2 separate regions of the Homo sapiens genome follow, and region 1 is linked to region 2. The links are contacts of gene promoters, found by promoter capture Hi-C in human tissues and cell types (Jung and others, 2019). All regions are on one chromosome and are shown on one strand. The core of a region is centred on a gene start or on the middle of the fragment in contact, and the rest is flanking DNA. Distances in the headings are between cores, read along the strand shown. Region 1 holds the start of CADM4 (cell adhesion molecule 4). Region 2 holds the start of DEDD2 (death effector domain containing 2).

Region 1 (7,449 bases), core at 4,716-7,215, 1.4 Mb after region 2:
GGGGTCTCAATATCTTGCCCAGGTTGGTCTTGAACTCCTAGGCTCAAGCAATCCCCCTGCCTTGGCCTCCCAAAGTGCTGGGATTATAGGCATGAGCCATTGCAGCTGGCCCAGACAGAATCTCATTTCAGCCCGACAACTTTGTGACATCATTATTTTCATCTTAAACACCTAGGTTGATCCCAGCTCAACCACTTGCCATCTGTGTGACCTGTGGGCAAGTGACCTTACCTTTCGGAGCCTCAGTTGCCCCATCTATAAAATGGGAATGATGCCAGTGCCTGCCTCATAAGGATGAGCCCCGCTCCTGAAGCTCAGGGAGCCCTCTCTGCAAGGCTGTTTTAGTGCAACCTCCGGAAACATGCCCATGCATGTGAAAACTGGCATGCACATTCTGGTGCTTTTAAAAACATCTCGAAGCCTATCCACAGATCCTGGACCTCAAGACTGGTTCAGTGCTAGCCCCCCATTTTACAGATGTGGAGAATGAGGCTTAGCGGGTCCCAGGCAAGTCAGTGGCAAAACTCACCATCTCCTGGGAGCCATCAGGTTCCTCTGGATCTGCCCCCACCAAATTTATCCCCTGCTCTCTGCTTGAGGGTGCACATGGGGTGAGGGTGGGGGTCTTTTGTTTTACTCCCTCCCCCTCCTGAGGAGTCAGTAACCAACAGTGTCTGTGCCTGGAATATTAATGTCTCAGCAGCTTTTGTTTGGGGGGTTGGGGGTGGTGGGGGCGGGACTTTCTGGTCAGAGAGGGGCTGAGCTTTGGGGACTGAGGCACTGGCCCTTTAAACTGTGTTGACAGCCAGGAGTCGTCATGGGGATGGTGCTTGGAAAAGGGGACAGGGAGGGTTTGGGAAAGAGTGGCGGAGCAGGTAATGCGTAAGACCCAGGAATCCAGCCCCCAACTACCTCCTCTCCCAGGACCCAGGAGTCTAGGCTCCCAGCCCCTCCTCCATCAGGTTCCAGGAGTCTGGAACCCCGGCTTCTTTCCGCCTTAGACCCAGGAATTCAGCCCCCAACCACCTCCTCTCTCAGGTTCCCGAAATCCAGACCCCTAGCCCCCTTCTCGATCAGGACCCAGGAGTCTGGGCTGTCAGCAGCCCCTTCCTTCAAACCTAGGAGTCAGAGCCCCCAGCCCTCTCCTAGCTTAGACACAGGAGTCTGGGCCTCCAGCCCCCTCCTCCTTCAGGACCCAGGAGCCAGGGGTCCAGAGTACACAGCTGGTGGATGTTTCCACGGAGACTAAGCAGGGTGGGGGGAGCGCTTCCTGGGTCCTGAGTCAGCGAATACCCAAGGGAGTCTCAAGGTCATAGTTCCGGGAAGGTCACCACCACCCCCTCTGTATCCGCTCCCCAGGGGGCTCCTGGCATCCTGCCTCCTTCCCCCTTCCTCCCTTAGGGAGGTGGTACATCCCTGCGTCCTGACTGAACCCCCCTCAGCCCCCCATCAATGGCGGAGTCCGAACATCCTCGCACAAAGCGTCAATTCTTCCCCAGCTCAGCCTTGTGAAGGCGCCTGTATTCGCAGGACCTAGGCGTCAGGGTCTCAGCCCCTCCTCCCTCAGAAACCTGCAGTGGAATCCCCCGCCTCCAGCCCCTTCCTCCCTCAGGACCCAGGAGTCTGTATCCTCATCCCTTCCTCCCTCAAGACCTAGGAGTGTGGACTCCCAGCCCCCTTTTCCTTCCGGACACAGGAGTTCCAGCCCTCGGCCCTCTCCTCTCTTAAACCCAGGGGTCTAAGACCCCAGCCTCCTCCTCCCTCAAACTCAGGAGTCTAAGATCCCAGGCCCCTCCTCCCTCAGACTCAGGAGTCTAAGATCCCAGGCCCCTCCTCCCTCAGACTCAGGAGTCTAAGACCCCAGGCCCCTCCTCCCTCAGACTCAGGAGTCTAAGATCCCAGGCCCCTCCTCCCTCAGACCCAGGAGTCTAAGACCCCAGCCCCTCCTCCCTCAGACTCAGGAGTCTAAGACCCCAGCCCCTCCTCCCTCAGACTCAGGAGTCTAAGACCCCAGCCCCCTCCTCCCTGGACCCAGGAGCCTAAGACCTCAGCCCCCTCCTCCTTGAGACCCAGGAGTCTAAGACCCTAGCTCCCTCCTCCTTTAGACCCATTAGTCCAGGCCCCCAGACCCTCCTCCATCAGACCCAGGAGTCCAGGCCCCCAGCCCCTCCTCCATCAGATCCAGCCCCTCCTCTCCTGAAAACTTTTGACTCTAACTCCCCAGTCCTCAACCCCTAGAAGCACAGTCCTGCCTTTCCTCAATCCTCTGTCCCCTCCCATCTGGGGACCTAGGCATCAGGTGGGGGCGTAGGGGTGAGTCAGCAACCTCACACACAAAGTCCCCGCTGTGGCCCCCACATTCCTGGGATATTCGGGACTCCCTGGATTCCAGGCCTCAGGCCCAGCCAGGGAGTGGGGAGTCCCCCAGAGGTCCTCCCTGGGTGTGGGGTACGAGAGGAATTCCTGCTCCGGGAAGGGTGCAGGCCTGCACTGAGCTCCCTCTGTCCGAACCTCCACGCCCAGTGCCCTCTATTCACCCCCTCTTCCCAGAAGAGCCCAGGCTCAGCACCTGCCCCTTGCCCCACTGGGTGCCCACGGAGGAGCCTGCGTGCCTGCTCCCTATGGGCCTGGGGTCTGCACAGGCGGAAATCAGTGGGTGCTTCCGTTCTGATGCCACAGGCCATTGGATGCTGGCGGGTCTGACTGTCTCCAGGCCACCCCCCACCCCTCCCAGAGAGAGAAAGCTGCCTTTGTGTTCTCCAAGATGGGGACAGGCCAGGCTCGCACGACATTAACCCAGCCTTAGGCCCCAGCCCTGCTGTGTCTAAGGTCTTGGAATCCACTGCAGAACCTGACCCCCACCCCCAGGCTCTGGGGACACAGGCGCCTGGCTCATGGGTGGGTGGGTGGGGGGGTCAGTGATAGAAACCTCCAAAACCTGTTCCTTGGGGTGACTCACAATGGAGGGAGGGTCCCCCTATTCTCAAGAGTGGCTGGTCAGAATTTTAGCAGGAAAAAGTGAGTCACCCTGGGAAGGAAACATTATTTAGGGACCAACAACTGCCCCCTCCACAAGACCCCTCAACTCCTAATAGCCTCTCTATTCTTTCTTTGTATTGGATATCTGTTTCCTCTCCTCCTTTCTGTTCTACCCAGTTTCTGGCTGCGGGTCCCATTTCTGCCTGGGTGCATCCCTGGGCAGGCAACCCATCCCTCCCTCTTGCTTTCTCTCCTCTGCCCACCCTGGATCCTTCTTTGGGCATAAATCTCATCTTCTTCTGCTATGCTCAGAAGATGAATGAACCAGGAGAGAGAGAACATGTTTTTAAAATGGCGCAAATGCACCCCATCTCCCCCGATTCCTGCTGGCTGGGCAAGGTGAGAGAGGAAGAAGTGACTAAGAGAGAAATGTGGGAACAACAGATACCCCCTAAAATGTGGTAGCCAAGGCCACTGAGAAATATCCAATGGAAAGGAGAGCAGGAAGGGCCCTCCAAGACCACATGCTACAGCCTCCTACCCCATGCTTTACAGAACGGGAAAGTAAGGCCCAGAGAGGGACAAGGACTGATGCAAAATTATACTAAAGGGTCCTGGGTAAGGCTTGGACCCAAGTTCCTTAGCTCCCAGCTGAGAGCTCTTCCCATGACACCAAGCTCAGTTTCTACTGGTAAAAGCCACATACTATTTACTTTAGAGAAAGTTTACAGAGAGGGTTAGGGTGCCAGGAAGCAGTGACTTGGAAATCAAACGAGGGACAGGGCTGTAGACCTAACTCCCAGAAGCACCAGAGAAAGGCTTTTGCACGGGGCGGGTGGTCACCTTAAGCTATATTCTGATCCTGAGAATTCAAAGTCTGATGATTCTAAGCTGTCAGGATTCTAAATGTCATAGATGTCAAGATCCAGGAACTCCAAGACATCAAGATTTCACGATTTTTAAGACGTCAAGATGCTAGCATGCTAACACCATCACGGTTCTAGAACTTTAAAGGTGTCAAGATTCTAAAGCCTTCTGGATTCTAGAATCCTGTAGATGTCAGCATTCTAAAGTACCATCAGGTTCTTTATTTACTGGATTCATTAGTTCCAGGATTCTATGAGCCTGGTGTTTAGCCTAAAAAATAAAGATAAATTAAAATTGATGGAAATGTCACTGAGGTACCAAAGTTCTCATCTGGGAAATTGTGGCATGTCTGTTGTAAAGAAAGGAGGTAATGATGCAAGTTCTAAAGCAGTCACAGAAGACTAGAGAAGAAAGAAAGACAGTGAGAGGACAGCTTTGCCCCTCATCCTGGCCGAGGTGAGGATGGCTCTGCCTCAAACCCTGGAGTGGGGAACATGTAACCGCACTCAACTTGCCAGAAACCCCTTCACGGTCTGAGCTGGCGTTCCCTTTCATGTCACTGAGTTCAACATCCTCACTTTACAGAAAGAGAAACAGAAGCCTGGAGAGAGGAAGGTGTTTACCATTGGCTGCGATGGCAAATGGCAAGAGCCAAGATTTAAGCCCAGGCCGCCAGCCCCATGCCACCTGGTTATAACTCCTCTCACCAATCTCTGCCGAACACCCAGCCCTCCTGCTTCTGCCTAGCCACCTTCCAATCCTCTGTTCCTTCCAAAAGTGGCCTTATCCACCAGGGAGGGGTGACCCGTGGCAGGTTCAAGACTTACACAGTGTGAGAGTGTGTGTGGGTGACATTTCCTGACCTTGTCCCCATTCTCAGGGTCACCCAACCTCGGGGGTCTCCAGCTTCTCACAGTGTGTGATGAGGGTATGTGGATGGCTCCCTGGATGTCCTGGACAGGGGCTTCTCTGTGAGTCAAGCCTGGGTGTGTGAATGGGTGAGCAGGGTTTGGAGAGGCATTCGCTGAATCCACGTGTGTGCCTACACGCCAAGGTCCCCCATTCTCACTTCCCCACACACATGCACACAGATGTTCCCCTCCAGGGCTCTTTAGAATGCCCTGCCTGACTGAATTCCTCTTCAGGGGCACAGAGGGATAGAGAGAGGGAGGAAGGTAGGATGGGAATGGGAGATCCCGGGATGGAGGCTGTAAGCGTAGAGAGAGGAGGCACAGCAGAAAGACAGGGATGGAGATAGTGGGACAGAGAAGGGGGAAAGAGACAGGTGACAGAAAGGGTTAGAGAAACGAGTGACAGAAAGACAGGGGACAGAGACAAGGGGATGGGGCAGATAGGGGACAGAGAAAAAGGGACAGAAAAACAAGGGTGACAGCGAGACAGAGACAGGGACCAAGAATAGGGGCAGAGAGGGAGGGCAGAAATCCGGGGGAAAGAGAATAGACAGGATGATGGAGGGGACAGAGTGACCCAGGAAAAGGGGACAGAGACCAGGGGACAGAGGTAGGGGACAAAGACAGAATAGATGAGGAACACCGAGGCAAGAAGAGAGGGAGACAGACAGAAGGAGGGACAGGACTTCGAGACTGAGGGATAGAGGACAAGGGTAGGGGGACGAGGAGCCAGACGGGGGGGTTCAGAGACGGGCGGACAGAGGGACGCAGAGACTGGACAGAAGGACAGCGGGACCGGCCTGGGGAGGGCGGACTTGTGTGTGTAGGGGGGTCTCGGGCCCTTTGTCCCCGCCGGGATCCAGCCTGCGCGGGTGGGGGGGCTGCGGCACGGCGGCCGGGCCCCGCGCCCCCTCCCCCGCTCGTCGCTCCCGGCTCCCGGCCCGCGCTGCGCTTTGTCCCGGGGAGGGGGCCCGGCCCGGCCCCGCGCGCATTGTTCGGCCTCTGCGGCCCCGAGGCTGCCGGGCTGTCACCACAGCGCGCCCCCCGCCCCAGCCCGGCCGGCCGACCCCGGCCCCCGACCCTACCTGGCCCCGCCGCGGCCGCCCACAGCAGCAGCAGCGGCCACTGGAAGCGCCGGGCCCGGCCCATGGTGCCGCCGCCGCCGCCGCCGCCGCTCGCTCCCGGCCCGGCACCTGCACCGCCCGCGCCGCCCGCCCCGCCCCCCGCGCCCCGCCCCCTGCCCGCCCGGGGGCGGGGCGCCGAGGCCGGGGCGGGGCCGGGGAGGGGAGGGGGAGACGGAGGAGAGGCCCGGAGACAATCGGGGGGACGGCACGGTGGGGGAACGGTGCGGGGTGCGAAAGCTGGAGAGGAGAGGGGTGAGGAGGGCGGGAAGGGGTGCGCGGGAGGGCGACAGCGGCGTGGGAGCAGGTGGGGGATCTCGGTGAGCGCGGGAAATGGAGGGTGTTGGGTGAGGGTGCTGCGTGCGGGCCCAGGTGCTGCGCGCGAGGGTGCGGAGTTGCTGGCATGCAGGGTGCTTGCGCTGCGCGGAGGGGAGGGTGGCAGGGTGTTGCTGGAGGCTGTGCGAGGGTGGGGGCGCGGGCGTCGTGGGGTGCGGTGTGTGCGAAGGGAGAGCGTGGCCAGCGTGACGGGGGAGCGTAAGGGAGGGAGTGCGACGTGGGAAAGGTGAGTGTGAGAGGCGTGCTGCGGGCAGGTGGGTGTCTGGAGTCTAGCGAGAGGCTGTGAGCTGAGCCACCGGGACAGGGGAGGCTGCAGCTGGAGGTCCGGAGGGTCCGGAGGTCGAGGCAGGTCAAGGATCTCCCAGGGCAGGGCGAGGCTGGGGCTCAGGAGTGGGGTGGGGTCAGTTCCCTCCCTCCCTCTCTCCTGTCCTGACCTGAAAACCCCGTGTTTCCGCGTCATTCTCCGGGAGGGGCCCCCTGAAAGTGAACTAACTGGAAGGAAGCCTGAATCCTGGGTCCCAGGAGGGAGAGGCTCCTGTGAACACCTTCCAAGCCCTGGCGTCCCCTCTCCTCCCTGCTGTCTCCCTGCCCCAGCCTCTCTCCCTCTCTCTGCATGTATTTGCCTCTGCCCTTCCTCTCTCCCCATCTTTGAGGGTGACTCACCCCTCCAGACTTAGGTCCCTTCTCCCTCCTGGGAGTGGGTTTCCCTGAGCCCACTTCTGTGACACCCTGTAGACCTGATGCGGGATCATTACCTATGGGACCCAGAAAGAGTGAGAAACCATGGAAAGAAGGCCTCGACCTCTCTCATGCCCATTTGTCAGGCAAACTGAGGTCCAGAAGTGCCAATTATGAACATCTTTCCTTCCCCCCTCCCCCCTCCCCGCCCAGACGGAGTCTCGCTCTGTTGCCCAGGCTGGAGTGCAGTGGCACGATCTCGACTCACTGCAACCTCTGCCTCCCAGGTTCCAGTGATTCTCCTGCCTCAGCCTCCCGAGTAGCTGAGATTACAGGCGCCCGCCACCATGCCTAGCTAATTTTTATATTTTTAGTAGAGACGGAGTTTTGCCATGCTGGCCAGGCTGGTCTTGAACTCCTTACCTCAGGTGATCCATCTGTCTGGCCTCCCAAAGTGCTGGATTACAGGCGTGAGCCACCATGCCTGGCTGAAAATCCTTACTTTTTATTCCGACTAAAAAATTTTACATCCAGTCCCACAAGGGACTTCAGCTTCA
Region 2 (7,480 bases), core at 3,968-6,467:
CGGCTCGTTTTTTTTTTTTCTCTGAGACAGGGTCTTGCTCTGTCACCCAGACTGGAGTGCAGTGGCATGATCTCAGCTCACTGCAACCTCCACCTTCCCAACTCAAGCAATCCTCCTACCTCAGCCTCCTGAATAGCTGGGACTACACGTGCACATCACCATGCCAGGCTAATTTTTATATTTTTTATAGAGACAGGGTTTTGCCATGTTGCCCAGGCTGGTCTCAAATGCCTGGGCTGAAGCAGTCCACCCGCCTTAGCCTCCCAAACTGCTGGGGCTACAGGTGTGAGCCACTGCACCCGGCTAGGTTTTTTATCTTTTTAGACACAGGGTCTTACTATATTGCCCAGGCTGATCTCGAACTCCTGGCCTCAGGCAATCCTCCTGCCTCAGCCACACAAAGCACTAAGATTACAGGCATGAGCCACCAAACATGGCTATAACATTAATCTTTAAAATACTAACAGAAACTTTTTGAAAAGTCAAGTCTCTAACACTGTTCACTGAAAGAACCTAGAACAATATACACACTCAACACCCAGGTTTTGGTCTCTAAATACCACAGCTTCCTTGAAAAACAGCTGATTCTAGGGTGCGGAAGGGAAAGTTCAAAGTCAGCCCAGGACATCTTGCAGTGCCACAAAGCAGGAAGCACACAAAGAATGATACAAACACATGAAGAAGACACAAGAGGCTAGCCAGTTGGAACTGCAGGAAGACTGACTGACTGTAACAAGTCAGTAAATAGTGTATGGGTCTATAGTGACACTCAAACTCAAAGGGGCATTGGGGGAATACCTCTTGAAAGAGAAAGAAAAAAGAAAAAGAATTAGAAAAATCACCATTTTGCAAACACCAATGTGATAACTGGTTCAGGCAAAGCTCATAGATGTGAAACCCACTGAGTAAATGGCTATTAGGGAACAGGATATGCCAAAGTATCACCCCATAGACTGTTTACTAACCATGAGAACTAAATGTCCCTTCACAATGGACAAACATGGCAGATATCCCCTTAACCAAGTGACCAAACTTTCCCACATCGGAAAAGCCAGGCCGTACATGCCTGGAGATGTACTCCAATATGAACTAGATGGCAGCAACCAAGGATTATTCCTGCTAAAGATGTATAAACTGAATCTAACCAAGCCTCAGACACAATTCCCATTTAACAAAAAATGTAAGGGAAAGAGGGACGAGTTACATAACTCCATCAGGAAAAAAACAGACAGATAAAGAAACAATCAGGACATTCTACAAAACAACCGGCCTGCTAGGGTGAAAAAATCAATGTTACAGGAAAAAGAAAAAGGTATGGGGTGTAGGGGCAGTTTCTGTGCTATAGCAGGAGACATAACAACTGAATGCATACCAACTCAACTATGAATAGATTCTGAACGGTCCCACAGTCTGGGGATTTTTGAAAATGGACCATTAGAATGTCAGAGAATTCGTGTTTATTTTCTTAGGTATAATAGTCTTAAAGTGGTACAGGAGAATATCCTTATTCTCCACGGATGCCTAATTTAGGGGTAAAGCATCCTGATGTCTGTAATTTACTTTCAAAGGGTTCAACAAAAAAATCCAGAATTACGTATACACATAAAGCAAAAGTAGCAAAATCTTAACAATTATTGAACCTAAGTGGAAGATGTTAACTGTACTAATCTTTCAACTTGTATGTTTGAAATTTCACATAATAAAAAGAGGGGTGGCCAGGGCGCAGTGGCTCAAGCCTGTAATCCCAACACTTTCGGAGGCCCAGGTGGGCAGATCTCTTGAGGCCAGGAGTTCGAGACCAGCTTGGGCAACATGGTGAAACCTCATCTCTACTAAAAATACAAAAAAATTAGCCAGGCATGGTGTCATGCGCCTGTAGTTCCAGCTACTTGGGAGGCTGAGGCAGGAGAATTGCTTGAATCTGGGTGGCAGAGGTTGCAGTGAGCCGAGATTGCACCACTGCACCGAAGCCTGAGTGACAGAATGAGATTCTGCCTCAAAACAACAACAACAACTAGAGGTGGCTGGCATGATGGCTCATGCCTGTAATCCAGCACTTTGGGAGGCTGAGGTGGGAGGACTGCTTGAGGCTAGGAGTTCAAGACCAGCCTGGACAACAAGGGGGAGACCACACCTCTATAAAGGATGAAAAAATTAGCCAGGCATGGTGGCATACCCCTGTAGTTCTAGTTACTTGAGAGGCTGAGGTGGAAGGACAGCTTGAGCCCAGGAGTTCAAGGCCGCAGAGAGCTATGATTTCATCACTGCACTCCAGCCTGGGTGACAGACCAAGCCCCTATCTTGAAAAAGCCAAACAGAAAAAAACAAAAACTGGGGGTGGTGAGAATAAATAAGTTAATTGGGGCATGGCAATTAAAATAATACAATTAGAGATACTCAGCATGAATAAATCTCAGACACATCTAGCAAAGACAGCCAGGTGCAGAGTAATACCCACAATGTAATGCCATTTAAACGAAACACGAAACTATGTGCAACAATTCTGTATGTTGCTTCAGAACAGAGTATCTGTAGCAATAAACACACACACACACACACACACACACACACAGTGAAAATGAGACAGAATAACCCCTCAGGCCCCTTCCTTGATGGGCACAATTCATAAGGAAAAGAGGGATGCTGCCATTACACCCACCCAGCTGGGCTCACCTGTCTCCCACTGACCCTGCTGAGAATTTGCAGAACTGCTTGACTGCCGACGGCGACGGCAGCTACCCTCTGTCCTCTTTGAAGAGCTGGAGGTGCCATAGCTATAGCGTTCTGGAGACACTGGAGGAAGAGAAGAACAGGAAGAAGCATTCAGCCTCCTGGCCCTAATTCCCACCCCTGGAAGAATGCCTGCACCACGAGGTGCCTAAGTTCCCCAGTAGTCAGAGCCCAAATACCCACTCATTCTCAAACACCTCCTGCAGAGGTTGCTCAGATGCCTCCTAAGAGAGAGAACTTATCACGACTTGGGGCAATCTAACCCACGTCTACGGCAGCTCAAACTGTCAAGGTTATTCTGTTGATAGTCATGGTAAGGGTCCCTGTAATGGCCCTTTGCCCTGGCATCAACTGCCCCCAGCTCTCCCCAAGGAGTAAGCAGGCCTCTGTGCAGGCTCCCCAAATCTTCTCTTCTAGAGCGTGATCTTCAGACATAGATATCCAAAAATGCTGTCAGCTCTTCCCTAGAGCTGTCCTTCTCCTGCTTATCTAAATCCTGTGGGCTTACTCTGGGTCAGGGAAGGCCATAATCCCCCCTCCCCAAACTAGCCACTGCCCCTTTAGTAACCCAGACAAAGGCTTGGTCTATTCATGCACACGGCTACCGGCAGCCTGAACCCCTCCCAGCTTCTCATGTGAAGGCTGCTATCCTCCAGGAGCACTTCCTTCACAAGGATTAAGGGCATCAACTCTGGGGACAAGTTGGCTAGGTTTGAATCCTGGCTCCCACACTTCCCAGCTACGTTCTCTGCAAGCCCCTTCATGACATAACTTCTTACCTCCCTCTCTTCCCTAGCTTGGGTCCCCTCTGCTCCTGCCACACTGGCCTCTGATGATGCCAAACTCATTCCCACCTCAGGCCTTGGATGCTCCCTGGGATTTTCTCCCCTGGGGTCTATGCATGGCTGGCAGTGCAGCCTCAGGGCAAAGCCTCCCTTCACCTTGCTGCTCTCCTGACTCTCTCTATTCCATTACTTTTAGTCTTCCTACAACAGCGTCTAAAAATAAGTTCTCTTATTATCTGATTGCCCCCACTAAACTTAAACTTCATGGAACAAACACCTTGTCAGCTCCATCATCCTGTATCCCTCCTAGGCCCAGCAAACAGGATTGTTATTATACGTGCAAACTGCTTAACTTCTCTGAACTTGTTATTTTCTTGGTTACAGTGAAGACAGTAACAGGACTTCCTTGTGAGATTACTGGGAGACTATAAGGCACTAGTTCATATGAAGGGCTGACAGCTGTGCCTGGCATGAAACAAGCCCTCCGTAAACAGTGGCCAAAATCATCATCACTGATGTGGCCAAATTCCCAAAGCCATGCTTTCTTCCTCTTATGTTGCTCATTGATATTGTGGGAAGAGAGAGTAGCAGAATGGGACATAAGCTGCCTGATATGGCACTGTCCGTATCAGGGCACCAGGGAGGCCCAGCGGGAGCCAGGCCCTTTCCTCCCAGGAAGTGTGACACCCTCCCATTCAACCGTACCTGGCCGGCGCCGCTTGCGCGCCAGGTGCGGCAGCAGGTCGTGGCGGGCCAGCACGCGCAGGAGTTGCCCCAGCAGCCGCAGGTTGCTCTCGTCGCACTGCCCGCGGCGCTCCAGCTCCAGCAGGAGCTCTAGGCCGCTGCGGGCCCGGGCTAAGCCTCCGGCGGCGCCAGGAGCCTCATCCAGCAGAAAGGCCAGGAGCTCCAGCTCGCACTCGGTCAGTTGCCCGCCCACCACCTCGAACATACGGTGAAGCGACAGCATCCCGTAGTAGTCCAGGCACTCATCCTCCTCCCAGCACGGGGCCGGGGTCGACCCGGATAGCGCCATTCCCGGGGGAGGGAGGCGGAACAAGCTCAGAACCCGGCCTAGAACCCACACAGCGGGGAGGGGGCAGTGGTCAGCGACGCGGAGGCCCGAACCCCACACCGCCAGCGCGTCTCCCCCGCCCAATCGCGCCGGGCAGGGCCGCTCCCGCACCCCCAACCGCCTCGGCCTCCCCCTCCCCCGGGAGGGAATGGTCCCGCCCGAGGTCCCCTAAGAACAGGTCGGGACGCCGGAGCCCGCTCGGCTTCTGCCCCCACCACCGTGCTACGTTCGGAGCTCGCCTCCGGACCTGACCAAACGATGCGGCCCAAACAAGCCTCGGGGCCCACCCCGGGGCTCCCTGCTGACTGCCCCTGACTCTGGGTAGGACTGCCCAGACGAGCCCCTTTTCTCCGTCCAGCGGTACCGTCTGATGAGTCCCCCGGCTCTACGCAAGTGGTACCTCCCGAAAGTGACCCTCTGCCCCCTACACAGAGGAGCGACCCAGGCAGCCCCTTTGCTCCACACAGGTGGTACCGTCCGAACCCGACCCCCTCGCCCTGCAAGGGCGGCCCCGCCCGCTCCCCAGAGCCCAGGTGGTCCTGTCTACCCGCCACCAGTCACCATTAGGCCTCTCTGGATCCTCACCAGATTCTGGCGTCCGATGACTCCTGGGCGACGGCCGCAGCCACTTGTTTTGGATCTTTCTGGCACCTTCTCTATTATTACGCCTGCGTCACCTCGCCCCTCCTCCTTCCCCCAACTCGCGCAGGTGCGACCGCCACGCCCCTTCGGCGCATGCGCAGAACGAGGCCTCCAAGCCCCGCCCTTCCTGGGCCGCTTGACCTGCCCCCAACCGAAGCATCTTGGTTCGCGAGTGCTGCGCTTGCGCAGAGCGAGAGCACGCCGCCTCTTGGGCTGTATCTGGTACCCGGTTCCAGGTCCCTACTTCCTGCCCGTGACTCAAGCCACCGGGGCCATGTAGCGCCACGTCACGAGTAGTTGTAACTACTCATCTCATAAACTACAGCCCCCTCCTGATCACGAGCTAGACGCCCACATCACCACTGCCCCTAGTTGCCCGTGGCAAAGTAACACAATCACTACTTTCCCGTCTCCCAGTAAACTCCCAGGCCTTATATGATCTGGTCCTGGGCACTCCTCCATTAGATTGTCCCTCACTTCTAGTGACAACCAGGGATCTACATCTCAACTGTGCTCTCTCGTGATCCCAAATGGAAATCCCGCCCCCCCACCACCACCCCCGCAGTCTATAAGTTCCTTCCCCTGATCAAAACCAGAATTCCCTCATCTCACGTTCAGGACGGATACCTCCTTCCAAGCGGCAACAGAACCCTCCATTCCGACTGTGTACATCTCGATGGCGTCCATCACGACCCCCATCACAGTCAGATGTCTCCACCCAGAGCCAAAACGGCCCCTCCGTAACCCCTTCCAATCTCTGCCCTCCAGGGTCGCCCAGATACCCGCTCCCTAACTTGCAACAACTAGAGAGGGTCTGTCAGGGAGTCTAGGCTGTGGTGTATGCGTGTCCCCTTACCGCGGGGCCTTGGGTGTGACGGTCGCCACGCCCCCCACTTAGGTGACTCAAGGTCAGGACCTGCATGTACTTGAGACAAGTCCCCTCCCTGGACCTCTTCCCACCCCCGCAATTAACTCCTCTTGGGAGTCGGGAGATCTGGGTCCTGCCTAGCACTGGCCCAGTACTGGCTCTGCCTGAGCTGTAGCAGTGAATTCAAAAGAATCGGCTGCGCGCGGTAGCTCACGTCTGTAATCCCAGCACTTTGAGAAGCCGAGGTGGGCGGATCACACGAGGCCAGGAGTTCGAGACCAGCCTGGCCAACATGATGAAACCCTGTCTGTTCTTAGCCGGATGTGGTGGCACGCGCCTGAAATCCCAACTACTTGGGAGGCTGAGACAAGAGAATCTCTTGAACCAGGGAGCAGTAAGCAGAGATAGTGCCACTGCACTCCAGCCTGGGCCACAGGGCGAGACTTTGTCTCAAGAAACAAACAAACGCCAGGTGCGGTGGCTCACGCCTGCATTCCCAGCACTTTGGGAGGCCGAGGCGGGCGGATCACCTGAGGTCGGGAGTTCGAGACCAGTCTGACCAACATGGAGAAACCCCATCTCTACTAAAAATACAAAATTAGCCGGGCGTGCTGACGCATGCCTGTAATCCCAGCTACTCGGGAGGCTGACGCAGGAGAATCGCTTGAACCCTGGAGGCGGAGGTTGCCGTGAGCCGAGATTGCGCCATTGCACTCCAGTCCGGGCAACAATAGCAAAACTCTGTCTCAAACAAACAAACAAGACCGGACGCGGTGGTTCACGCCTGTAATCCCAGCACTTTGGGAGGCCGAGACGGGTGGATCACCTGAGATCAGGAGTTCGAGAGCAGCCTGACCAATATGGCAAAACCCCGTCTCTACTAAAAAATACAAACATTAGCCGGGCGTGGTGGTGGACACCTGTAATCCCAACTACTCGGGAGGCTAAGGCAGGAGAATCGGTTGAACCCGGGAGGCGGAGGTTGCAGTGAGCCAAGATCGTGCCACTGCACTCCAGTCTGGGCGACAGAGTGAGACTCCGTCTCAAACAAACAAACAAACCCTCCAAGAAATCCCTTCCCCTCTCTGGGCCTCAGTTTCCCTACTTGTGAAACAAATGGATGGCAATGGTAAGCTACGGAAGCATAGTCCTGGGCTAAACTCACAAGGGGGCCTGGTAAGTGACTATCATTAAATCAAACGAAGAGTAGGGAGAATAGGAAAGCAATTTAACAAACTGTGAAGGATTCTGTCTTGCTAAGTGGGTTGTAGTGGGCGCCTACAGTGTATGAGCGCTGTGCATGTGTGATATCATCCAATCCCCTAAACAATCTTTGAGGTGGCTGTGACTCAAGCTCACTTCACACCAGTAAAACAGAGGCCC

What was found. Contacts are between HindIII fragments. The study calls those that stand out against the background at their distance.
Region 1: the fragment with the promoter of CADM4 here is called in contact with the fragment with the promoter of DEDD2 in region 2 in 1 of the 25 tissues and cell types used here (dorsolateral prefrontal cortex).

What each region holds. Positions count from the first base shown.
Region 1 is chr19:43,633,885-43,641,333 of GRCh38, forward strand. CADM4 (cell adhesion molecule 4) reads right to left here and starts at 5,966. Exons shown (of 9, transcript NM_145296.2): 1 at 5,843-5,966. The coding sequence starts at 5,906. It overlaps LOC105372411 (a long non-coding RNA gene), which reads left to right. Exons shown (of 4, transcript XR_001753942.2): 4 at 176-1,134. RefSeq lists a silencer at 5,850-5,989. The HindIII fragment of the contact is 16,381 bases long and covers 1-7,449 here.
Region 2 is chr19:42,212,460-42,219,939 of GRCh38, forward strand. DEDD2 (death effector domain containing 2) reads right to left here and starts at 5,218. Exons shown (of 5, transcript NM_133328.4): 1 at 5,173-5,218; 2 at 4,221-4,586; 3 at 2,674-2,793. The coding sequence starts at 4,548. RefSeq lists silencers at 4,349-4,554, 4,636-4,695, 4,706-4,805 and enhancers at 5,577-6,453, 6,454-7,329. The HindIII fragment of the contact is 17,474 bases long and covers 1-7,480 here.